Linked DNA regions of Homo sapiens: all the other regions are linked to region 4. The links are contacts of gene promoters, found by promoter capture Hi-C in blood cells and fetal thymus (Javierre and others, 2016). All regions are on one chromosome and are shown on one strand. Each heading gives the region's core, a stretch centred on a gene start or on the middle of the fragment in contact. The rest is flanking DNA. Distances are from core to core; before and after follow the strand shown.

Region 1 (6,925 bases), core at 2,230-4,729, 380 kb after region 4:
ATGTGAGTGCCTGTTGCTTCCCTCTCCCAAGACCCAGAACAGCCAGGCTTAAGTACATTTATTGTACTTAATAAATGGTTGATGATTGAATAGGCCTCTCTTATAGGGACTCTCATCACATTTCCAATAAATCCACCCCCTCCTACCAGCATGGTCTGCAAGGCTGTACTTGGTTTGCCCTTTTGACCGCATCTTCTTTCTCCTCTTCCATTGTCCCCTTTCTCACTGCATTCATCCAGGGAATCCTGAGCTTGCCAAGCTCTTTCCCATTTTCAGCCTTTGCCCTTGCACTTCCCTTTGTCTGAGACATTGTTCTCAGGTCTCTGCGGGGCTGCAGTTCCACACCCATCCTGGCAGTGCTGGCTGTAGCTAAAAGCACCCCTCACTCCCACCTGCCTGCTCTCTGGCAGCTTGGTGAGGTGTTTTAGCGGTGCTCAAATGCTGCTTTTGCTTTTTAAATGTGAGGCTGTGCCTGATTTCTAAAGCTCCCTGAGCCTTTGCTGACTGTGAAATGGAAGTGATAACGACATTTACCTCTGGGCCTGTCAGGGGATTAATAAAGTTCCCAAACACATCAGGCACTTACATGTGCTAGGCACTCCACTGATTGCCTAAGTGAACATTTTCTGTTTAGTTCTTAGAGCTGCCTGCTGAGATGGGAATAGTTATTGTGTTGATTCGGAAATCGAGCCTTAGAGAGATCATGTGACATCGTCATAGTCACATAGCTGGCAAGTGTCAGATTCAGGAGGCCTGATTTAAGTCAGGCCTTTATTTGCTTTACCACGGCTAAGGAAGCCTTAGCCTGGCAGGGACACAGTGAGGACCAGAGGACTTAGTGAAGGGTGCCTGCCCCTCTACACCTGTGGGTATTTCTTGCAAGGTGGAGATGAGAGACTGAGAAAAGAAATAAGACACAGAGACAAAGTATAGAGGAAGAAAAGTGGGCCCAGGGGACTGGCACTCAGCATATGGAGGACCCACACCAGCACCAGTCTCTGAGTTCTCTCAGTATTTATTGATCACTATCTCTACCATCTCCATGAGGGGGATGTGGCAGGACTATAGGGTAATGAGTGGGGAGAGGGTCAGCAGGAAAACATGTGAGCAAAGGACTCTGTGTCATAAATAAGTTTAAGGAAAGGTGCTGTGCCTCGATGTGCACGTAGGCCAGATTTATGTTTGACTTTACCCAAACATCTCAGTGCAGTAAAGAGCAGTATTGCCGCCAGCATGTCTTACCTCCAGCCATAAGGCGGCTTTCTCCTATCTCAGTAAATAGAATGTACGCTCGGGTTTTACACCAAGACATTCCATTCCCAGGGACAAGCAGGAGACAGATGCCTTCCTCTTATCTCAACTGCAAAGAGGCCTTCCTCTTTCATGAATCCTCGTCAGCACAGACCCTTTATGGGTGTCGGGCTGAGGGAAGGTAAGGTCTTTCCCTTCCCACGAGGCCACATCTCAGGCTGTCTCAGTGGGGGGAAACCTTGGACAATACCCAGGCTTTCTCGGGCAGAGGTCCCTGTGGCCTTCCGCAGTGCATTGTGTCCCTGGGTACCCGAGACGGGAGAATGGCGATGACTTTTACCAAGCATACTGCCTGCAAACACATGTTTACCAAGGCACATCCTGCACAGCCCTAACTCCATTAAACCTTGAGTCAATACAGCACATGTTTCTGTGAGCACAGGGTTGGGGCTAGGGTTACAGATTAACAGCATCTCAAGGCAGAAGAATTTTTCTTAGTACAGATCAAAATGGAGTTTCTTATGTCTTCCTTTTTCTACATAGACACAGTAACGGTCTGATCTATTTTTCTTTCCCCCACACTTAGCTGCTGCTGTTGCTGTTATTGTGGTTGGATTAGTATCAGTCATTTTCCTCCATTCTTTTAATATGCCAGAGTACTTACTCTCTGCTTCCCATAGTCCTCGTGGGATTGCCATTGTTTGTGTCATCTTCAACAGCTTCCCCATAGAAGGCTTTTCTCTCAGGCACAATTGCATTGTCAAAAGGCAGTATCTGCCTCCCCTTTGAGCCCTGCACGGAAGTCAGCCCAAAGGAGACCTAGTTGATTCAGACCTGGATCTCTCTGCACATTGACTAGAGACTGAGTGACAGGTTCTGATCCTATGCGACAACACAAGGCCAATAGCATTACTTCTGTTTGACTTTCCAGATGTTGGTGACCTTCAAGGATGTGGCTGTGACCTTTACCCGGGAGGAGTGGAGACAGCTGGACCTGGCCCAGAGGACCCTGTACCGAGAGGTGATGCTGGAGACCTGTGGGCTTCTGGTTTCACTAGGTAATGACTCACCTCTCATCCCTGAGGAGGACCCTAACCCTGATTCTTGGCCAGGCAAAAAGGTCACTGGAACTGCCCACCTTTCTCTTGACAGACCTTTCTGTTCCCACCTCTTCCTGACTGGTCTCCCTTTGTCTGCATCAGAGATTGTCGGGGTAGAAAATGTCCTTTTAACACAAACCCTCACTCCAGTGCTCAGCCCATTCTGAGGTCCTTAATCAAGATTGCATAAGAAGGAAGCTGATTGGCCATCCTGGTGGGGTCAGCTGTGGCCACAGCCCTATTAAGCAGGGGCCATGGGTGATGGGCTGTTCTTAGAGAAAGGGGTGAGTCAGGCAGCCCCCCAGAAGACATTTGTCCTCAGTGCCCCTCGGATATCTTCCTAAGCAATACAATCTCTGTAAAAAGGCATCTGGGTGCCTGCATGGTCATTAGTTGTTTTCTGATGCTTGATATCCATGCTCTGTTGATCCAGGAGGTGTTTTTAGAGGGTACACAGGAATGTCCTCAAATGGCATGGTTTGATACCCTGATAAAGCCATTCCTTTTACTTTCTCTGTCCAGCACGCTAATTCTTGTCATAAAAGTCTCATCAGCTGGGTGTGGTGGCTCACGCCTGTAATCCCAGCACTTTGGGAGGCCGAGGCGGGTGGATCACGAGGTCAGGAGTTCAATACCAACCTGGCCAAGATGGTGAAACCCCGTCTGTACTAAAAATACAAAAATTAGCTGGGCGCAGTGGTGCGCGCCTGTAATCCCAGCTACTCAGGAGTTTGAAGCAGGAGAATCGCTTGAACCTGGGAGGCGGAGGTTGCAGTGAGCCAACATTGCGCCAGTGCATTCTAGCCTGGGTGACTGAGCAAGACTCCGGCTCAAAAAAAAAGAAAAGTCTCAGATCAGCGCTGAGTCTTTCATTTTCCTTTCACTCCCCCAGTGCAGTTCATTTCTTTTTTTTAACAGAGGGGACAACCTCCAACTTAGCCCTAAGAAACATACAAGGGTTTCCTGGGACTTAGTGGCATTGTTTTGATTTTGTTGTGTTGTGATTGCAGACTTCTATTTGTAGGAAGGGAAATTGACTTTCTCACTTACCAGAGCAAAACAAGGTTCCCTTTTAGAATACAATATTTAACAAAAGTGGGTCAGGATAAAGAAGTTATTAGAATTGATGGCACACTCTGAGTTCAGTTGGGAAGGTGGACATCAATCCATAGATGACAACTGAAATAAGTTCTAGAAAGAAAAATGAGGGGAATTTAGGAATAAATAAGCAGGATGTCATAACCTATTGTGGGAGTTCCAAAGAGGGCATCTCAGGAAGTGACAGTGGAGCTGAGACCTGAAAGCTGAGTAGGAGTTAGCTGGATAGAAGGAGGTGGAAGAGGGTAACAGTGTTCCAGGTGGAGGAACCAGCGTGTGAAAAGTGACAGGGAGCTCAGCTCTTGGGAGAGCCAAAGGATCATCTGATTCACCTTTCCCACAGCCCTGTCCCAGAACTCAAAGCCAGGCATGTAGCACACATTGGTGGACCTTACTGTGACATGTCTGAAGGAATCCTGGGCTATGGTTCAGAATCTGCCAGTCGATGTTTCTGTGGATCCTTGTACCTCAGTCATTGGTCTTCTATACAGAATCCTCCTGTCTTTTACTCACCACATCTAGTGGAAAGCATTTGGCTGCATATAACAGAAAACCAGATCAAACTGGCTTCACCTGGAAGGAAATTCACTAACTCGCCTGATGAGAAGCCTGAGGTGTGGTTGGCTCCAGGCTTGTTCGGTGCCGCAGCCCAGTGACGCCATCAAGGATGTCTTGGTTCTCTGTTCCTTCTTCTTGGTTCAGGCTTCTGATTGTCCTCAGGCTGGCTCCTCATAGGGATGCTGGGTGCTGCAGCCTTGACTGGGGCAGCAGGCCCCCATGTTCAATCCATCCTCCCACCTTGGAATAAATGCTTTCTTTTCACAATGAGAATCCAGCTTTGGTCACCTGCCTAATGAAGACTCTTGCATTACCAATTTATTTCAACCACTGGTTTTTCTTTTCCTTTTTTTTTGAGATGGAGTCTTGCTCTGTCATTCAGGCTGAAGTGCAGTGCCATGATCTCAGCTCACTGCAGCCTCTGCTTCCTAGGCTCAAGCAATCCTCCCAACCTCATCCCCTTGAGTAGCTAGGACCATAGGTGCACACCACCATACCTGGCTAATTTTTTATATTTTTGGTAGAGACGGGGTTTCACCATGTTGGCCAGGCTGGTTTAGAACTCCTGGCCTCAAGTGATCCTCCTGCCTCGGCCTCCTATAGTGCTGGGATTACAGCATGAGCCACCATGTCCAGCCTCAGCCAGTGGTTTGCAGCCCCATCTGGGCACCAGAATTTTGGGGGGCACATTTTGGAAGTACTGATGCCCAGGTCTCACACGAAGAAATTTTGTTTCATTTGGTTTGAGGTTGGAATCACGCATCCCCAAGTGGTTCTGAAAGCACGAGGTGTTTGAGAAGCAATGATTTAGATTTGTTAGAAAATGCCTCCTGGGGCCGGGTGCAGTAGCACCTTGGGAGACTGAGGCAGGAGGATCACTTGAGGCCAGGCACTCGAGACCAGCCTGACCAATATTGTGAATCCCAGTCTCTATTAAAAATACAAAAACTAGCCAGGCATGGTTTTGCATGCCTGTAATCCCTGCTACTCGGGTGGCTGAGGCACGAGAATCCCTTGAACCTGGGAGGCAGAGGTTGCAGTGAGCCGAGCACTGCACTCCAGCCTGGGCAACAGAGTGAGACTCTGTTTCAAAAAAAGAAAGAAAGAAAGAAAGAAAATGCCTTCTGGAGGAAGCAGCACACCTTTGCCGTGTCCCATGGCTGTCAAAGTGTTGTGTGCCTGAACAACGTTGGCTTCCATAGACGGAGGTCATGGGCAGTGGGTGTTGTGTAGACAGATAGCACTACCCTCCATGGCAGTTGTAGCCCAACAGTGGGATTTGTGCCTGTCTTTTATCTCCTTGGCTGCCATAATAAAATGTCATGGATTGGGTGGTTTAAACAACGAGAGTTTATTTTCTTATGCTTCTGGAGGCTGAGAAGTCCAAGATCAAGGTGTCGGCAAATTTGATTCCTATTGAGACCTCTCTTCCTGGCTTGCAGATGGCTGACTTGCTGTGTTCTTACAAGGTGGAGGGACAGAGGAGAGATCTCTCTCTGTTTTTATGAGGCCATAATTTTATCAGATTAAGGCTCCACCCTTGTGGCCTCATTTAATTTTAATTACCTTCTAAAGATCCTGTCTCCATATACAGTCACGTTGGGTGTTAGGGCATCAACATATGATTTTTATGGGGAACACAGCTCACTCAGAGCAATGCCCTTGATTTTCAGGGCTCACATCAGCATTTTGCTTACTTTGGGAGCAGCTGCATTCATGTCTGGACCCTGTCATGAAGTCCTAGGCAAGATGGAGAGACTTTCATTTTCTCATTAAATTACCCCTATTCTATTTCTTTTGCTATCAACAGGGCATCGGGTTCCCAAACCAGAGTTGGTCCACCTGCTAGAGCATGGGCAGGAGCTGTGGATAGTGAAGAGAGGCCTCTCACATGCTACCTGTGCAGGTAAGCAGCCACCAGCTGGTCATGTGGAGTCATGGCAGTCTTCAGATAATGTGAGGGCACCACTGCCTCTGAATTTCTGTGTGAAACTGCTCATTGTGGCTTTCCGGGGGCCTGGTTGTTTCTGACTCACTTTGGGTCATAGTGTCCATCATCAGGTGAGCACTGAGCCACACAATTATTCAGAGACACAGGTACCTTTTGCTGTGAACAGGAATCTTTATGGTTGCTCTGGCTCAATCCAGCTGGTAGAAGGGGAACAAGAAGAAGGGGAGAAGTCATACCCAGTTGTACACATACTTGACAACCACATAGTCTTGACAAGAACTAGGCATTTGGCCACACCTAGATGCTCAGGACTGACAAATGTGATTTGGCTATGTGCCCATGGAAAAGAATTAATGGGTTTGGTTTACATCACCTCAGACTCCTCTACTCAACAAAATCAGAGTGATATAATTTCTGTGTCATTGAGTTGTTAGAGGATGTAGAGATAACACATGACACTGCTTAGTTCAGTTCCTGGTCCATAGGATCAACAAATGTCAGCTAGTTAGTATTATGCATGAACAGTTTTAATCATCATAAATGTAATGTCATACATTTCTTTCTGGACTCAAGAGAAAGGGGACTTTCCTCCCCTTGATATTACTGTCTGCATTATGCTGTGAATCCCACTCTTTTCCACCCTCTCCGTCCACTCATCCATCCTCCAGTTAGACCATCAGAGACTCGGAAGCAGCCCTTTGCTCCATATCTTCCTGCCCCTCTTGCCCTGAGAAACACCAAGGTGACATTTGGCCTTCTCTGCCCTACATCTGTGCTGATGAGTGTAGCTGGAGCCATTTGCCTTGTGGATTTGTATCACCACTGAGTCATGGGCTCTCCCCTTGGGCTTCTTGGCCAGCCCCATCTGCAACCCTGTGTTCCAAATACCTCCCTTCCCATTCCCTCAATCCCACATCTCCACTTAAGTGTCTCAGAGGCACCTTTAGCTCCTGATGCCTAAAAAGAC
Region 2 (6,439 bases), core at 260-2,759, 320 kb after region 4:
ACCTTCCCCTTCCCTCTTCCTTATTTGGAAAATACTCACAAATACCCAATTGGCTCAGCTTAGATTAAGCGGTCCGACCCCAGCCCATGGGGGAGTGACACAGAGGAAGGTAGGGACTATGGGTTAGAGATAAAAACCCCTTCCCTCCTTTGTTCAGTGTGCTCTTGGGATCGTGATTAACACAGGCAGCACACTTGCACAGAAGTAAATTGCCTTGCTGAGAAAACTTTTGCCTGAGTGCTGGTTTCACTTTGCAGCACCAAGCATTGACTTCCAACAACACCATCTAGAATGCTTTCACATGCCAGGACCCCTCCTTTCTGGAAGGAATCTTAAGTGTCCACCCCTTCATCCCTGGCCTTCCACCCTAAACCCACCTCTCACTTCAGAGACCACACAAAATAACTTCCTTGAAATTCCACCCTCTAAATCTGATCTACTACAGGCTTTGACCTTATGCCTCACCCATTGAAGTCTCTAGCACAACTCCCTCTCTAGAACCCCAGACCTGCATGTTCAGCTACCCGTGATGAACCTCCAGTGCAGAACACCTTAGATTCACCAAGTCCAAAACCCAATTCCTGATGCCCCTGAAACGTGCTCCCTGCTGTGACTTACCAATTTCCATTCTTTCACACGTTCAGGAAGGAAAACAGGCCAAAAAAACCCTGGATAGCCCTTTCCTCCCTACATTCACTCACGACCACATCTGATGCGGCAGGAAACCCCATTGGTTCCATCTTTAAAAATCTACCCAGAATCTCATGACTTCCCCACCCAACCCCTCCTGCCACTGCTCTGGCCCAGCCACCACCGCAACACTTCTGGAGTTTGTTGCAGGGACCTCCTCAAACGTCTCCTTGCCTCCATCCTCATCGTTTCTACCTCACTGTAGTCGGTTTCCTCCTCAGCAAACATTGGAATACTTTAAAAATCCTTTTTCGGATCCCTTCCCTCCACCATTCAAAACCCGCCATGGCTCCTATCGTCCTCGCAATGAAGGAGCAACTTCTCCCCTCGACATTGCAGGCCTGACTACGGTTCACACACGCTCCCGACTGCTACGGGCTCAGTCCAGCTCCAAACCTATGCTCAGGCTGCCCCTCTGCCAGTCACACTCGCCCCCACCCACCAGCGCCCCGCTGCCTTGGACACTGGGGCCTGCGCTGCAGGGACTCAGACAGGCGCTCCTCATTTGGAACTTCAGGATTTGGGGCGGGCGAAAGTCTGGGAAAGGCAGCACCCACCTGCGCCGGGCCCATCACCGCGGCCGCCGCCATCACAGTTCGTAGACCACCCGGAGCCGCGAGGGGGTCCCAGGTCGCGGGACCCTGGCACCGCGGTCGTCCGTCCCCGGGGGCGCAGGCGGGGTCTTCGCTGGCGAGCCACTCCGCAGAGCGAACAGCGACTTCTCCCGCACCCTCCCGCTTCCGTCACCTCGGAACCGCCCAGCAACCCCGAGCTTCTGCTCCGATGGTTCCACCTAAGAGCCGACAAGATGTCCACCGCGAGGAAGATACCGGAAGTCCCGCCCAGAGAGCTTCCGTCCGCAGGGAGACGCCCCTAAGAGTGCCGCCGCCGGGCGGCGCACAGGTTTCTGGGCAATGCAGTTCTCATGTGCACTTGGCCGTGGTGACGGCTAACTCCCCTGCACGCTGGGCAAAGGCCAAATGGTACTGCGAGGGGCGCTGAGAAATTATGCCCTGAGACTCTGAGGTCAGGGCGTGGCTTCGCTCCTTTTAAAGGACCCTCAACCAGGTCTTGTGTAGTGAGGTCTGCAGGGATCCCCGAAATATTGGGATATATTCTTACAGATGTTCCCTGAAGCCACACCACCAAATGGACACACAACATCCAATGTCACTCTGAGTCCACTCATAGTTCAGTCAAATTTCCTTCATTTAAAAAATATGTGTACTGTAGAGGGAAGCTTTGAGTCAGTTTTGTGAGCCTCAGTTGGGTCAGAGTTAACAGAGAATTGTCCCCAGGCAGGGCCATGGAGTGGAAGAATGGTCTCCAGACAGTGGCTATGGAGGGATGCTGGAGCTCCCTGAGGCAAGTGGACTAATATAGAGCTCTTCCTCTGGTTTCCTCAGAAAAAAAATACCTGAGAGAACCATGAGGAGGAAGACAGGCGAGAGAAGGTGGTCAAGGAAGGCACCTTTCCTGCCTGTATGGTCACTAATGTCCAACCAAAGGAGAAATATTCTTTTATCCAAATGAGAGTTCCTAGCCCAAAAGTTGAGATATATCTATTTCCTTTTGGTGATGTTTCTTATCTGAAAAGAAGAACCATTATAAATGCTTTTATATGCCAAGACAGGGGCTGAAAATGTGGTGTCTGAACCCAGAAATAAAGATTTGGAAAATTGGGATCAGATTTCTTGGCTGGGAGGTGATTCTCATTTCACCTGCAATTACACCGACAGTGTCTGAATTGAGAATTGAGATTTATTTATGGTTTTAAAAAAGAAAAGGGCGAGTGTATGGGGAAAGAAAGACAAAAACATTTGTGAATTGTTTAAATTACTCAAAAGTTGTTTTGTGTTTTTTTTTTTTGAGACGGAGTCTTGCTCAGTCGCCCAGGCTGGAGTGCAGTGGTGCGACCATAGCTCACTGCAGGCTCCGCCTCCCAGGTTCACACTATTCTCCTGCCTCAGCCTCCGGAGTAGCTGGGATTACAGGCGCCTGCCACCATGCCCGGCTAACTTTTTGTATTTTTAGTAGAGATGGGGTTTCACCGTGTTAGCCAGGATGGTCTCGATCTCCTGACCTCGTGATCTGCCCGCCTCAGCCTCCCAAAGTGCTGGGATTACAGGAGAGCCCCCGCGCCCGGCCAAATTACTCAAAGTTAATAATTCTGTAGTTATTCACAGATACATGACGAAATGGACCTGGAGAAACATATCTGTGATAAGTGAAAACGGTTAAGATGACAGCAAAATTTGAGCAGGAGACATTGAATTCTGAGAAGTGAGCAAATGAAGCTGAGCACACAGCTGTGTTAGAACTATGACTACAAGCAGCGTTTAGTCTCCAAAATGTAATTTTATTTATTTATTTAATTTTGGAGACAGGATCTCACTGTGTTGCACAGGCTGGAGTGTAGTGGCACGATCATAGCTTGCTGCAGCCTCAAACTCTTGGGCTCAAGGGATCCTCCCACCTCAGCCTCCCAAAAAGTTGGGATTACAGATGTGAGCCACCATGCCAGGCCTCTTTTCATTCTTGAAAACACTCAATAATACCTGGAAGGAGAAGTAAAGAAAACATTTAGAAAGTGCTATCAGAATATTAAGGTGAACAGGGATGCTGTAGTATTATGCTTATTCATAGTTCTAAGAAATATTCAAGGAACACCTACTGTATTTCAGACACTATCTTAACTGCATGGGACATTTACAAAACAAGAGACAGACCCCAATAGCTTACGCTGTACTCAAGAAAGAGGAGGAAATATGAAAAAAATGCTAAATTATATGGAATGTTAGAATGTGGCAGGCATAATGGAGAAAAGAGAAGGTGAAGGCATTGAGAAGTGCTGGAAAGATATGTAATATTACATAGCCAAGAGAGGCCAATTTGTGGATGGGTCTTTATTGGAAAAGGACATGGAGAGCTCAATGCCAGTGAAATAAAAGTTTAATGTTACTCAGAATTTCCCTAGAAATGGGAAGTACAGTATGCCATGCAGGGCCACAGGAGGAACAGGTTTCAGTCTAAAGGAAGAAGCAAGAGCTAGGGGAAAGCCTAGGCCAGATCAGAGCAAACAGCTGAGTACTGGCTAGTCTGAATAATTCTGGTTGGCTTCGATTTACAGGGGTGGTCTCTAGTTGCCTCATACCCTCACCCTGGTGTTAGAGTAGGTAGATAAGAGTAGGGCAGGAGAGAGGGACCCCAGGAATGTCAGGCAATTTTGGAGTCAAGGACAGGCAATCATAAATCTTTTCCTCTGAGATAATAAACAAAACAAGAGAGGGACCCCCGAGATGTCCAGCTCTCATTGGGTGAAGGACAGGAAAGCATAAAACTATCCCTCTGAGATGATAAGTGGCCATGATTGGTACCAGGAGGGAAAAGAGTTTTCCAACAGATAGAAAACACCTGGAGCCAGTGAACCACAACCCCTGATAAGGTTTCGAGCATGCACAAAATGGGGCAAGATGGCAAAATTTGACTGGTATTTGACCTTCCTCTGGGGGTGCATGACTTGTTAAGGGAAGATCACCCCAAATGAGTATATGTATGACTTCAGTAAACAAACTGCATGCGGCCCCTCCCAAGTACTGGCAGACCACTGTGCATGCAGTAGTCAAGCAACAGCCTACCGAAGGAAGGAGAATAAAGAGCCTGGGAAATAAGCAAATGTATAAAGTCCCAAGCCAAGGATCAAGTGGGGCACTTGACCTCTCAAGTTATCCACTTGGCCCTTTTCCAAGTGTACTTTGATTCCTTTCACTCCTACTCTAAAACATTTTAATAAACTCTCACTCCTGCTAAAAAAAACTTGCCTTGGTCTCTTCCTGTGCCTTAAGCCAACCTCTGCCTCCTCGGTTGAATTTTCTTCTGAGGAGGCAAGGACCAAAATTGCTGCAGACTGCTGCAAAATCACTGGCAGTAACGCTGGGATGATTTAGTGCAGGGAAAGTATTGGCTTGGTGAGTAAGAGTTAGATAAAGAGGGTAGTTGGCTTGCCTTGCTCTCAAGGTAGTTGTTTACTATTTTTAGAAATTAGCTACCTCTGGTAGGGTAAGTCTCTCTGTCACCAGCAAGAATTTTAAGATGTCAAGACATATAATACAAAAAACAGAAACCATGATTAATACATATGCTTCCTTAATGAGAGGGTGGTTGAAAAAAAAGGTTGAGGAATGACAGCCCTGAACAGACCATTTCACAATTATAAACATAAAAATATTCACTTAATATGTGTGTTCTTGGAAATTATAAGATGTGCACAATGAATTTGGGGGCTACTGATTCAGGCAAGGTTTTAAGCTCAGAATTTTGTCCAAAACGGTCACCTTGTTACTTTTCTGGCCTTCAGGGAATATGGCCACTCAGCAGGTCCTGAGGAACAGCTGTTCCTCCCTGTTTCCTGAGGAACAGTGTTGGGGAACATGGGACATATGCTGGAAACAAGACACCCAATCCATGCTGTTTCAAAACACTGCAGGCTGTCAAGTTGTCCAGTTTCCAATAGAAGTGGGAGGCCCAGATTTTTAAATGGAATAACTTTTTATAGGTTCATTGAGGTGTAATCAACATGCAATGTACTGCACATATTAAAACAGTAAGTATACACACACACACACACACACACACACACACACACACATATGTACACTTTTGAAATCATCACCCTATCAATGGTGTTGGACATATCTGTCACCTCCAAAGTTAACCTCAGGCCCTTACCTAAGGGGAAGTTTTATAAATAAAAGCACAAAAAAATACACACTTTATGATGTCTAAAATAAAATTCCAGAAAATTCAAGTCAATCAATTGTAAAGGAATGTTAAAAGTTGCCTGCATATTCTGGAATGTATTATAAAAGAGCAAAAGTAAAATATGCAGGTGAGATATGCTCATTCTTATGATTACAACAATGCTTCCATGGGTTTACATTTATGTCAGAACTTATCAAGTTGTACACTTTAAATATATATAATTTATTCCACATCAATTATAACTTGATTTTTTTTTAATGGATGCAATAACAATCTTGGTCATTGACACTTCAAAAAGTCTGGTTTACTAAGTCTCTATTGACTCTACCATCTAGCTCCCCAGGCCACGTAGAGGCAGACCTGCTTCAGTGGCAGGAAATACAGGTGAGCAATGAAGGCCATTTCCATCAGCGTTAAGAGGATTGCTACTGGATCACAAAAGCCGCACCAAGGACAACCGAATCTCTCTTGACTTCATCCTTTTTTTTTTTTGTCTGTGCAGCAATGGCCTTGAAGTAAACAGGCCAGAGAGGCTACAGGAATCCACAAAACCCTTGTTGTCTCTAGTAATAACTTGAGCTACAAGACACACATTTCTAGAGATTTCTGCACACAGTGATCTTGCAGTCATAGTCACTGGAACATTTGTGGATACTTTTTTTTTGAGACAGAGTTTCGCTGTTGTTGCCCAGGCCGAAGTGCAATGGTGCGATCTCGGCTCACCTCCCAGGTTCAAGAGATTCTTCTGCCTGTCTCCTGAGTAGCTAGGATTACTGGTGCCTGCCACCACACCCAGCTTTTACTTTTACTTTTTACTTTTACAATTTTTGTACTTTTAGTAGAGACAGGGTTTCGCCATGTTGACCAGGCTGGTCTCGAACTCCTGACCTTGGGTTATCCACCCACCTCGGCCTCCTAAAGTGCTGGGATTACAGGCGTGAGCCACCACGCCCAGCCTTTTTTTTTTTGGAAACAGAGTCTCACTCCA
Region 3 (6,728 bases), core at 3,743-6,242, 350 kb after region 4:
AGAACGACTCAGCACACAACAGCCCATGGGCAAGAAAGTTAATATCATTAAACAAACAAACAAACAAACAAACTAGAAGGAGTGAGTAAGAAGAGCCCATTGTCCCCATAAGTATAGACAATGACAATGACTACAATCATGACACAGGTAGCCACAAGAAAATGTCAGCTAGCAGATGGGGGTGCAGGGAACTTGGGACACAAGGTGTCATGGATCTGAACACAGACACCCAGCCAAGAAGAGAGCAAGGAACAGAGATCCATTTGGCTGACTGAAGAACACCTGCTGCCCAGTGGCAGGTGTTCCCAGACCACTGGGCAGCAGGTGTTCCCAGACCACTGGGCAGCAGGTGTTAGGGCTACTCAGGCAGTGCACAGTGCTGGATCCCATAGCACATATCCCAAGAAAGTGGAGAAGTCAGCAAAAGACCATAGACAGACCAGGACACTGGAGTTGGTATTAGGGCCTTACCCAGTGAGGCTACAAGGGCAAAGTTCTCCAGCATCACTTCAAGGTACAGGAGTCTCTGAGCCTCATCAAGAAGTCCCCACTCGTCCTGTGAGAAGTAAATGGCGATGTCCTCAAAGGTCACACAGCCCTGTCATGATGGGGACAGGTCACTCCACAATCAACGCCTCCACAAGTTCATCCACCCACGCAATCATCCCCACCTTAAGGAAATACAGGCCCTGGTGACACAGATGCCCACTCTCTTTTCATGGTCCCAATGATCACTGTATCCTTCTACAGCACCAACCAGGAGGTGGGCAGGATGCACCACATCTAAACTTTGGGCCCGGTATGTAGGAGTGTATCCCTTCTTGTCAGGCAGTTCCCCAAGGGTCTTTCAGATAGTGCCTCCTAGACACAATCAAATGTGGCTTCACCTTTGACCCTTAAGTCCTCAATGCCAGGGGCCTGGGTCCTTCAGTTCACACTCCCTCTCCATGTACACATCATTCTTTGAACCATACTCGCTCAGTCTCACTCCCACGGCTACCTCCACCCCTCTGCCTGCCAAATTGAGACATCATCCAGTGCTACACAGACCTCTGATGGTTCCTACTGTCATAGACAGCCCCCACCCTGCTCTGAAGGGCTATCTTCCTGACTCTGTTCCTTGCTTCAACCTCAGCCACCAAGAATCACCTGATGTCAGACACCGATGGCCGTCCTCCACTTGTGCTGCACTTGATGTCCCCTCTTCAATCAACAACCTTCTTCTCACCTCTTAACCCTCATTCAAAATCAGTGGCCTCAGTGGCACAGACTCTCAGTGGCTCTCTACCTCCAACCTAATGACTCATACAGATGAACACTTGTACTCCTAAACTTATTCAACTGCTTGACTCACACCCTCCCCAGACTCACCAAGGGTCACAACAAATTCCTGGCGAGTTTTTACCATGGTGAATAAGCACTAGTCCTAGTGTTTTAGTCAGTTTGGCCTGCTAGCATAATACCACAAACTGGGTGGCTTATCAACAACAGAAATTTATTTCTCACAGATCTGCAGGCAGGAAGCCTGAGATCAGAGTGCCAGCATGGTCAGGTTCTGGTAGGGACTCTTTCCAGGTTGCAGACTGCTGACTTCTTGTATCCTCACTTGTTGGAAAGAGCACTAGATAGTAGCTCTCTGGCCTCTTTGTTTAAGAGCACTCACTAATCCCATTCATTAGGGCTCCACCCTCATGACCTAATTATCTCCCAAAGGCCCAACCTCCAAATACCATCACACTGGAATTAGGCTTTAAGCATATGAATTTTGCGGGGACACAGTCCACTGTACCTGGCCTCAGTGTCATCTTCTACCAATTATTTCTTTATCTCCATGTCTGTCTTATGTCCCTAATGCCTTGGAAGCCTTGACCACTTATCAGATGATATGATTTGGCTGCGTCCCCACCCAAATCTCTTCTTGAATTGTAGTTCCCACAATTCCCATGTCATGGGAGGGACCTGGTGAGAGGTAATCGAACCATAGGGGCAGGCCTTTCCCATGCTGTTCTCATGATAGTAAATAAGTCTCACAAGATTTGATGGTTTTATAAGGGGGGAGTTCCCCTGAACAAGTTCTCTCTTGTCTGCTGCCATGCAAGACATGCCTTTCACCCTCCACCATGATTGTGAGGCCTCCCCAGCCACGCGGAATCATGAGTCCATTAAACCTCTTTTTCCTTACAAATTATCTAGTCTCCAGCACATCTTTATCAGCAGCATGAAAATGGACTAATACAGTAAATCAGTATGAGTAAAGTGGGGCTGTGCTGTAAAGATAACTGAAAATGTGGAAGCAATTTTGGAATTGGGGAACAGGCAGAGGTTGGAACAGTTTGGAGGGCTCAGAAGAAGACAGGAAAATATGGGAAAGTCTGGAACTTCCTAGAGACTTGCTGTCTTTATCAGCAGTGTGAAAATGGACTGATACACCAGATCATCCTCTTTCCTACAATCTTCCCATGACCACTTTTCTCTCACAACTGTTTGTGATGCTCACCACCTCTACCACGTGTCCAAGCATGAGACACAGTCATAGCCCCAACCTTCCCTTTTCTGTTTTTTTGTTTTGTTTTTGAGATGGAGTCTCACTCTGTCACCCAGGCTGGAGTGCAGTGGCGTGATCTTGGCTCACTGCAACCTCCGCCTCCTGGGCTCAAGCAATTCTCCTGCCTCAGCCTCCCTAGTAGCTGGGATTACAGGTGCCTGCCACCACGCCTGGCTAATTTTTGTATTTTTAGTGGAGACGGAGTTTCACCATGTTGGCCAAGCTGGTCTAGAACTCCTGACCTCAAGTGATCCGCCTGCCTCGGCCGCCCAAAGTGCTGGGATTACAGGTGTGAGCCACCACACCCAGCCCTTTCCTGCATTATAAATAGCATTATCTTCAAGACCAGGATTACCCACTCCTAATTGTGACCCATAGCTACTCTGGGCCAAACACTGGCCACCACCTTTTGGATTTCTCCATCTTAAACCACTTCCAGAATTCTAGATGTACATGGACAGCTACTCACCTGATGTCTCCATATATCATTCTTTGGAATATCTCAGACTATGATAATAGCTAAAGACAAAACTCCTGTTATCCTTAATGAAAATTAATTGGCTGGGCATGGTGGCTCACGCCTGTAATCCCAGCACTTTGGGAGGCCAAGACAGGTGGATCACCTGAGGTCAGGAGTTTGAGACCAGCCTGGCCAACATGGTGAAACCCTGTCTCTACTAAAGATACAAAAAAAAAAAAAAAAAAAAATTCGCTGGGCATGGTAGCACGGTAGCATGTGCCTGTAGTCCCAACTACTCAGGAGGCTGAGGCAGGAGGATTGCTTGAACCCGGGAGGTGGAGGTTGCAAAGAGCCAAGATCGAGCCACTGCACTCCAGCCTGAGTGACAGAGTGAGACTGTCTAAAAATAGACAAATAAATAAATAAAATAAAAATAAAATCAATCCTATAACATGCTATTTGATGGAGATTCCATCCTTCCAGATGCTAAATTCAAAATGCCTGGAGTAATGCTTGACCAGTATCTCTTACCCTCAAAATCTGAAAATGCAAGCAGGCCTAATTAAAATTCTGACCCAGAATCCAGCCACTTCTTCTACCTTCACAGCCACCACACTGGTGAAGCCACTATCAAAACTCACCTTGGCCACTGCAGTAGCCTCCTCCCTGGTCTTTCTATCGCCTCCATCACACCCACAGAGTATTCTCTATGCTGCATTAACAGTGAACCTGATGAGACCAGTGTCAGATAACCTCCGTTCTCTTCTCTAAACCTCCCATTGTTCTCATCACCTCCAGAAAAAACACCCAATTTCTCAGAGCCATTCCAGGCCTGAGTCCTGCCCTGCTGCTCTGAGTTCCCATGAGAAAGAAAGGAGAGTTGTGTTTCCCTGAATCAGCTCAGCTTCACTGCCAACCTTACACATTATTGTACGTAGGCGGGGCAACCTTTCACACCTCATTCCATTGTCTGCCAGCAATAAGAACGTCTACAAATAACCACCAGTCTAGAATCAGGATGTCAAGCTTCCAGTTTGTGAAGAGTCCTTAGGTCAAAGAACTGGATGGTGGCAAAAAGATCCATGAAAAAACCCCAGGATGGGGCCAGGACCAGTGAGGGCCTGGGACACCCTCCACTCACCTTTGTGAGGTCCATATGTGTTTCTGGAGACACAGTAACCTGTGGAAAGCCAAAGATCATGAAAGGCAGGTGACCATACAGGGCTCTACGGATTCAGGCTTCCCTGGATTCCTGTCCAGGCCAGAGCCAGGTGGACTGAGGATGCCTGCATTATTTCTGAGCCTCAGCGTTCCAGTCCTCAGTGCCAACTCTTAGCAACTGTGGGACCTTGCACAAGAACTCAACCTCCCTGTGCCTCTGTGTTATTCCATTCTATTCTAGTCTAACTCCATGAGGTTTTTGGAAAACTTCGAAAGACCTAACTCAGACCATATGCCGCTTCTGTACACAACCCTCCACGGCTCCTAGCATCCTAAGAATTGAGGGAAAACTCCTCACCTTGGCACTCCAGGTATGAACCTTCTTCACTGTGTCTCCAAGAGTTTAGAAACGCTGGTCCCTTTGCCTGTAACCCTCTTCCGTGCCCCATCACCCAAGTTCTGGAAATAGGGACCCCACCCACGAGCCCCCACTGTACTGGACATGAGGATCTCGACCGTAGTGACCCAAGAAGGCACTAATTTGGGGATGGAGGGTGAGGCCCAGTAGAGGCAGCGCTCACCTGAGTCGGGGCCCTCAGCGCGGCCGCAGCCATCGGAGTCTGTGGGCAGAGCGGGGCCGGGACCCGACAGCTACGGGCGGAGGGACCTAGGCAAAGCCGTCAACCCCGCCGCCGCCGACCCTTAGAACCCCCACTGTTCAGCGGGAGGACCCCTCCCCTCGCGCCTTCCGACTGTCGCCAAACAAAGCGCTCCCAAAGCTCTGACGGTCTGGATGCACCCAAGCGCTGCAAAAATGACCGCCACTGAAGTGATACCGGAAGTCCCTCCCCGACCCATTGGTCCCAAAGCGGAAACGACCCTTTTCTCAGCGCGGATTGGCTCAGCATCCCTGCGGCTGGAGACAAAACCTTCTGGGTTCTGTAGTCCCCGCTGGTCCCCAGGGCTGAGGGAAGGATGCTGCCGCCCAGCGTCACCTCAAACAAAAGCCAAGCGGCCGCGCTGGGGGCGCAGGGAAATGGCGTCGCCACAATGCAGGAGAGGGCTGGGCCTTGTCGCTCCTTAAACAGGCCGCTGGTCGATTTCTGTGGTCCCGTCGCGGCTGAGCGCCCACGTGATTAGAAGCATTGATTCAGGCTCAGGAAGCTGAGGCCAGATCCACACCGACGCGTATTCCATACGTATTCGACGCTCCTGCGGGAGCAAAGGAGCCTCGTGCCCCTCCCTTGCGGGGTCAAGGCGTTCGAGGCCGTGCCGGGGCCAAGGCTATTCTGTGAAAGGAGCGACTTAGGTGTCGCGCTGTGGGCACGTGTCCCGGGAGGCCACGTGGGGGCCGCGCCCCCGGCTGCTCCTGCTCTGACCTGAGCCCTTTGACTGTACCCAGAGGCGGGAGGCGGGGCCGAGACGTCCCATGGGAAGGGGTTCTCCGTAGCTCCACCCCGGGGGACGTCTCCTCCAGGGGGGCCGGGCGAGCTGGGAAGGCCCCAGAGCCGCCGAGGAAAGCGCCTCTGCTTCCCTGAGTCCCCTCCTGGGTCTAGGAGCCGTTCCTGCGTTTTCTGACGCCCTCTCCACCGCCCCTCGGCTGAGAACTGGGTCCAGATGAGCCTTGGACCCCGTTGAAGACGTCTCCTACCTCATCTCCCACACCTGCTGGGACCATCTCCAACCGCCCTCAGGGCAGTAGGGAGGTAGGCGGGTTCCCAGGGCACCCCAAGCGGTGGCGTACAGTGGTAGGAACAAGGCCTCTGGAGCCCAAGAATGGGATTTAGTCCCCGAGGGGAAGTCCATGCTCTGCCTTACAGCGGCTGGTATGGGCTTCTGGGGGCACCCTGAGACTCGGCCTGTAGGGATACTCATAATGGCCTCCATGAAGGTGCAGGTTTAACCACTGGACCAGTCTCATCTGGCCATCCTCTGTTGGTAACATAATGTCCAGTTATTTTGCAGGCACAGAGCTAAAGAGTTGCAAGTTACACAGCTAGAGAATGTGCAGAAAAGAAAATGTCAGGCCCAGCGCGGTGGCTCACACCTGTAATCCAAGCACATTGGGAGGCTGAGGTGGAAGGACCACTTGGGCAACATAGCCAGACCCCGTCTCTACAAAAACTAAAAAATTACCCGAGTATGGTGGTGCACCTGTAATCCTAGCTACTCAGGATGCTGAGGTGGGAGTATCGCTTGAGCCCAGGAGATCACGGTTACAGTGAGTTATGATTATGCCACTGCACTCCAGCCTGGGCAACGGAGCCAGACCCTGTCTCAATAAATAAATAAGTAAATAAATAAATAAATAAAAAGAAAAGAGAAAAGAAAACATTGACCCAACACTCGGAGCTGAAGTCTCACCTACCAGACTCCACCCTGTCACCACAGGAAACCAAAATATCAGGCTATGGCTGGAACCCAAGTGCTGAAACACTTCCGAAAGCAAGGGGTCTGTTGTCTCTGAATGTTGGGTGATAACAACCCCATCCCCGCCTTGCCATCAATAGATTTGTTTGAAGTCCTTCCAATCAAAATCCACCCTTCCAGTGCTTACCAACC
Region 4 (6,332 bases), core at 58-2,557:
TTAACATACGCCTAGTGTCTCCAGGTGGAGATTATCACCACCATTACCAATACCAAGCTGAGATTTCTCTTTCATTGTTCTTTACCTGAGACTGACTTCAAGTTCCTAAAATGAGTTGAAAATATAAGTTAGAATACCAAGTAAGGGATATTACATGAATAAATGTTTTGCTGAATGAATTGGACACAATAATTGACTATATAAGCAGGAGAGTTGTTTTTCCATGGGAACGACTGATTGACCTTTGTACTCTTTCTTTAGCCTCTCCTCTATCTTCCTTGGCATGGTCCTATCTGGATTAGTTCTCTTTTGTCCCTGGCAGACTGAAAAACCAACTCTAATGCCTCAGAGTGAGGCAGGAGAATAGGGAATTAGGGTAACCAAGAATGAAGGCATAAGCAAAAGAACAGCAGGTGCAGCTAGTTCTAGGCAAGATGAGGCAGCACACAGGCCACGTCCTCACTCCTGTGGTAACAAGACAGAAGTCTCCACTTCAGCCTCTGATTGGTTGTGCACCAGTCCTTCATAGGATTGGAGGCCTTTAAAGAACTCTTGGGGTATTATAAAATTCTAGCTTATTCATGGCAAAAACCGCAATTACTTTTGCACCAACCTAATAAAACCCTAAAAAACATTGTAATCGGGGTTCTTGAGCCGCTTGGTCGCCTGCTCCCACACCTACATTCCACTTCTGTGGAGTGTACTTTCCCCTCAATAAATCTGCGCTTTCATTGGTCCGTTCTTTCGTTGCTTTTTTTGTGTGTTTTGTTCACTTCTTTGTTCAATGCGCCAACAACTGGACAACTCACAGCCAAGACATTCTATCCGGTAACAAGAGTGCATTCATGTGAATTATAACAGAGTAATGTTTATCAGCCTCTGCTTCCAGTGCAAGCATTCTGTGTCTAAACGATTGTATAAAGTGATACACGAATTTGGATTTGTAGCCTTTGGGGGCCTTCACAGTATTTTTAGCGCCTGGGAGCTTGAATTTACAGAAATGTGAATTAATATTTTTGCAAACACTTAGGTGGTCAGTTACAAACAGGGATTCCCCAGGAATCTCAATATGGCCTCTAAGGAGGGGCGAGACCATCCTCTGCCCTAAAAGGGTACGCGCTTTAATGAACCCCCTGAGGTAGGGCTGGGACTTCCCTGCAGAAGCGCCTTTGGGAAGCGGCAGCTTTACTACCTTGGAACCTGGGGAACTACATTACCCAGAAAGCTCTACATTGAATGACAGCGCAACAGAACCAGTAAGGGCTCAGAATAAAGGCGTTTCTGTGTGCGCACGTAACGTAGTGGCGGGATTCTCAGCGTTCTCTGGTAGCGACCATTTTGGTTAATGTTGGGTGTGTTTCTGCGGTTTGTGAGGTGAGAGGCGCTGGAGCTATGGGTCCGAACCGCGGTGTCTGAACCCAGAAGGTGAAGAGTCCTTCTTGCTGCACAGAGGCAGATCTTAGGCCCCGTAACGGCGCCCGCCGCTCCCGGCAGTGCTTTCCCCGCGTACTCGGGATGGCGGCGGCCGCGCTGAGGCTCCCGGCTCAGGTAATTGTGCCTTCCCTGCCCTCAGGTCACCTCATCCTAACCCGAATCCTGAAGCAGCGAGAGAGCGGCGACTGTTCACAGGTCTGCAGCCCGGACCCGGCGTCGGGACACTGAGGCGTTCGCGGGAGAGGTCCTTGTTTCTGACACCTGTGGGATGCGGTGGGGAGAGCGACAGGCACAGGGACCGGCGCGGGCTATGGCCTGGAGGACAGACCCGGGAGGATGGAACCTGGGGTCCACAGGCGCCTGTAGGGAACAACGTGTGAGGCGAAGCTTCTCCTGGAAGAGCAGGCTGGGGGCTGTGTATTCGCTGTGAAGACGCTAGAAGCCATGGAGAGTTTCGAAGAAAGGAGGGATGCGATCCAAGTCCAGGCTTTTAAGGTTTCCCAAAGGCCAAAGGAAGAACATAGTAGAGGAGATGAGGACCTTAGGGTTCTGGGAGGTTGACTCCTTTGTTGATAGATCACATAGGTGGTAGAGATGACATTTTGCACTGAGACACGCAGGTCAACCAGTCTGAGGTCACCTGGCTCCAGCGATAAGAAAAGGTTCAAGGAGACCTGAGCTTATCAGATCCCCTTTGTAACGTCTGCTTTCCCCTCAGACACTCCTGGCTACAAAAGCACGTAAAGAACCCACTGAGGGGGTCGGGCAAGGTGGCTCCCACCTGTAATCCCAGCACTTTGGGAGGCCGAGGCGGGCGGATCACCTGAGGTCGGGAGTTCGAGACCAGCCTGACCAACATGGAGAAACCCCGTCTCTAACAAAAATACAAAATTAGCCAGGCGTGGTGATGCCGCATGACTGTAATCCCAGCTACTCAGAGGCTAAGGCAGGAGAATTGCTTGAACTCGGGAGGCAGAGGTTGCGGTGAGCCATTGCACTCCGGCCTGGGCAACAAGAGCGAAACTCTGGCTCAAAAAAAGGAACCCACAGAGGGAATTAGAGGGTGTTCCATTCCCTCACTGGCCTTATTCCCCATTCACATGTTCTCTAGCTTGTGATGTCCTGGGACTCTTACTTGCCATTTTTTCAGTCCTTTGATCTGAGAACACTGGAGAAACCCTAAACCCAGAATCCTAAGTCCATGACACAGGATGTATGGAGGTATTCCCATTTCTGTCAACCCATGTAAACATACTTTGAAGGTTAACTACAGAGTTGGTACCAGGTCATGAAATGCTTAGAGGTAAAAATTCGGTGGGGAGGCAAGAGGGCGGCGAGGAGGTGATGTTACCACAGTCCCATTTGTCTGCAGGCATCATCTGGCTGCAAAGAAGAGAACACACTGTGTTTGAGGGAGGAGGAAGGAGGATCAGAGTTTAAACTCCTGCCATAATGCAGGTGAGGGTTACTGGACCATATTAATGAGTAAGGAGCTGTGGCTGGATTCAAGATTCACAGTTTGTAAAATGGCAACTAGATTTTCCTTTTTTTTTTGAGCGGGAGTCTCGCTCTATCGCCCAGGCTGGAGTGCAGTGGCACGATCTTGGCTCATTGCAAGCTCTGCCTCCCGGGTTCACGCCATTCTCCTGCCTCAACCTCCCGAGTAGCTGGGACTACAGGCGCCCGTCACCATGCTCAGCTAATTTTTTGGATTTTTTAGTAGAGACGGTTTCACTGTGTTAGCCAGGATAGTCTCAATCTCCTGACCTCGTGATCCATCGGCCTCGGCCTCCCAAAGTGCTGGGATTACAGGCATGAGCCACCAAGCCCGGCCATGCCCGGCTAATTTTTAATATTTTTAGTAGAGATGGGGTTTCACCGTGTTAGCCAGATGGTCTTGATCTCCTGACCTCGTGATCTACCCGTCTCGGCCTCCCAAAGTGCTGGGATTACAGGCGTGAGCCACCAAGCCCGGTCGGTAACTAGATTTTCTAATAGACTGTGAGGGCATGAAAGGGGAATCAGGTATGACCACCAGGTTTTTGGTCTTAGCATCTGCAGTGATGGAAGCTGCATCAACTGAGATGAGCACATAGTAGGTATAATATTCATTGGGGATGTGAAGAATGTTGTTTTGACCATGTTAAGAGTCTGAGATAGTTTAGCCTCCATTATGACATTGACACACTTCAAATTTTCATGGTAAATCTTTTGTGGGGGCCAGGAAGGGGTGGTTGCAGGCTGAGGGCTGAATTTCTTGCTTGGGTCCCTGGCTGACATTGCCACAGGAGAAGGAGGCAAGGGCTCATGAAGATAGGGTATGTCAGACAACATGGTTTGTCAGGGGGCATAGGCTTTCCAAGGGTAGAATAGATAAGAGATGTAAGCAGAAGCATAGAAATAATTGAAGGAAGATGACACTTGGGCCAAGGCTGGTACTTATTCACCACTCTGTGGACTCACCAAGATTTTGAGAAAACTTTGTTGGTGCTTGGGGGTTTTCATTCGGCCTGGTGGATACATGCTCAGGGTAAATTTGGTTATCTGTGACAGACATTGGGCCTGGGGTGGACAGCTGATGGGCTGGGATTTTATTTATTTTTTTCTTTTGTTTTCCACTTTTCTTAGACCATTCTCCATAACAAGGGAGTGGGATTTAAATGACTCTAGGTGGACAGAGGAAAGTCGTCATTGTAGAGGGGTCACCAAGTGCAACACAGAAGTGGAATAGGGCCATGGATATCTAAAGCCCCACCTGGTTCTGTGGGGATGTGGAGCCATGCAAGAAGGCCTTCATAGAATGACTTGGGACTGCATTGCTATTGGGAGCCATGAGAATTCTGTGGTAATATTGGATCCTGTTTGAATTTGCCAAGCATACTCTGAATTCTGTCAGCCACATTGTGGCATAAGGCCGAAAATGAAAGGCCAATGTGATGTGCAACGTTGGTGTGTGGTGATACTGTATGACCTCAAATGGCCTGAGCACAAATCCCCTTCCCACTCTGTTCTATTGGATAATGTATCCTGGCCTAACAACCCTTTTCATTAAGGGATCAGGCACAGTTTCTGGTTATTATACTTTGTACTGGGTTTCAATTCCATTTCTACTCAGAATTATTTAAGCAAGTCAGTGGCACCCTCCTGAGAAATCAGGGGCTATCACACCCTCTTCATCCTACAAAGTGTGCATAACACTGTCCCTGGTTTCCATTTGTTGTCCACAGTGCAACCCCCATGTGGCCCTCTCTGCCAGGCTGTGAGTTATTTGATTTTGAAATTGCTGTGGATGGCATATGTACAGTCTCAGGTGTCAATTGTTTCCCCAACACTATAACCCTAAGGGGAGAATCCCACTCAGAGCAGTAGAAGGAAAAGAAGGGGATTAAAATACTTTGTTGGCCAGGCTTGAAGGCTCATGCTGTAATCCCAGCACTTTGGGAGGCTGAGGTGGGAGGATTGCTTGAGGCCAGGAGTTTGAGATCAGCCTGGGCAACTTAGCAACACCCCATCTCTTAAAAGAAAGTGGTTGATGTTGCACATACGTAAGATCCCATCTCCACAGAAGGCTGAGGCCTGGGGCTAAGGGGTTTGAACTTTCCATGAGCCATGATCACACTACTCCCCTCCAGCTTAGGCGACCAAAGGAGAACCTGACTAAAAGAAACCAAAACTGTAATTTGTGTTAAGGCTCAAAAGAAGCTGATGGTTGGGGGATGTCATGTTGGGCTGGCCGTGACATGTGCCTGTGCTATCTAAAGAATGATGTGTAAGGCCGGGCGTGGTGGCTTATGCCTATAATCCCAGCACTATGGGAGGCCGAGGTGGGTGGATCACCTGAGATCAGGAGTTTGAGACCAGCCTAGCCAACATGGTGAAACCCCATTTCTACTAAAAATACAAAAATTAGCCAGGTGTGGTGGTGGGTGCCTGTAATCCCAGTTACTTGGGAGGCTGAGGCAGGAAAATTGCTTGAACCTGGGAGGTGGAGGTTGCAGTGAGCTGAGATCCCGCCACCGCACTCTTGTCTGGGCAACAAGAGCGAAACTCCATCTCAGAAAAAAAAGAAGGATGTGTATTTAGAGAGGGAGTACGTCTAATGGACCCAGGCAACTGCACTGGGCTTTATGTGAGCTCGGATATACCACAGGCATTAGCTGTCAGGAGGGGGTGGACCCTTTTATGTTAAGAGTACAGCATAGCCGGGCACGGTGGCTCACGCCTATAATCCCAACACTTTGGGAGGCTGAGGCGGGTGGATCACGAGGTCAGGAGTTCAAGACCAGCCTGGCCAAGATGGTGAAACCCTGTCTCTACTAAAAATACAAAAATGAGCCAGAAGTGGTGGTGGGTGCCTGTAATCCCAGCTACTCGGGCGGCTGAGGCAGAGAATTGCTTGAACCCAGGAGGCAGAGGTTGCAGTGAGCTGAGGTCATGCCACTGCACTCCAGCCTGGGTGACAGAGCGAGACTCTGTCTCAGAAAAACAAAAAAACAAGCACAGCATAGATCCCTATTTTTCCCCTACTTCTTAATTGCTGATGGCTATACTGAGTGACCAGTGGGCCCACGAAGAGACAAAGGCACCAGTGGACTAGTTTCTCCTCTGTGCTGAGGATCTTGGGAGGAGGATGGGCAAGGGGGTGGGGGTGTGGGAGAGGTGGATTGTGGTACCTCAGCATAGGAGCTGTTTGTGGTTTCATCTGTCACCATCATAGCAGGGCACTGTGGCATTTGAAGATGTGGCTGTGAACTTTTCCCAGGAGGAGTGGAGTCTCCTTAGTGAGGTTCAGAGATGCCTTTACCATGACGTGATGCTGGAGAACTGGGTACTTATATCCTCCCTGGGTAAGTTCCTCACACCCTACCCTATTTCCTGAATAGATCTCTGCCCTTCCC

The links. The method cuts DNA at HindIII sites, captures the fragments that hold promoters and counts their contacts. A CHiCAGO score of 5 or more calls a contact.
Region 1: a contact is called between a fragment that was not itself captured here and the fragment with the promoter of ZNF418 in region 4, in 1 of 17 cell types (fetal thymus). The highest score is 6.3, in fetal thymus.
Region 2: a contact is called between the fragment with the promoter of ZNF134 here and the fragment with the promoter of ZNF418 in region 4, in 2 of 17 cell types (megakaryocytes and total B cells). The highest score is 6.0, in megakaryocytes.
Region 3: a contact is called between the fragment with the promoter of ZIK1 here and the fragment with the promoter of ZNF418 in region 4, in 2 of 17 cell types (erythroblasts and fetal thymus). The highest score is 5.6, in erythroblasts.

The regions. Positions count from the first base shown.
Region 1 is chr19:57,551,615-57,558,539 of GRCh38, reverse strand. ZNF550 (zinc finger protein 550) reads left to right here. Exons shown (of 4, transcript NM_001397372.1): 2 at 2,183-2,309; 3 at 5,818-5,913. Among named protein-coding and RNA genes, the nearest start is that of ZNF550, 4.8 kb to the left of the region's middle. The HindIII fragment of the contact is 8,378 bases long and covers 1-6,925 here.
Region 2 is chr19:57,609,312-57,615,750 of GRCh38, reverse strand. It overlaps ZNF134 (zinc finger protein 134), which reads right to left and starts at 1,509. Exons shown (of 3, transcript NM_003435.5): 1 at 1,248-1,509. ZNF530 (zinc finger protein 530) reads right to left here. Exons shown (of 4, transcript NM_001321981.2): 4 at 5,653-6,439. RefSeq lists a silencer at 1,255-1,304 and an enhancer at 1,435-1,614. The HindIII fragment of the contact is 2,580 bases long and covers 1-1,932 here.
Region 3 is chr19:57,582,409-57,589,136 of GRCh38, reverse strand. ZIK1 (zinc finger protein interacting with K protein 1) reads right to left here and starts at 4,992. Exons shown (of 4, transcript NM_001010879.4): 1 at 4,748-4,992; 2 at 4,147-4,185; 3 at 472-598. The coding sequence starts at 4,780. RefSeq lists enhancers at 5,156-5,255, 4,952-5,483. The HindIII fragment of the contact is 4,281 bases long and covers 4,034-6,728 here.
Region 4 is chr19:57,930,377-57,936,708 of GRCh38, reverse strand. It overlaps ZNF418 (zinc finger protein 418), which reads left to right and starts at 1,307. Exons shown (of 6, transcript NM_133460.3): 1 at 1,307-1,548; 2 at 2,807-2,892; 3 at 6,155-6,281. The coding sequence starts at 2,887. RefSeq lists enhancers at 1,340-1,429, 1,022-1,904. The HindIII fragment of the contact is 3,111 bases long and covers 1-1,823 here.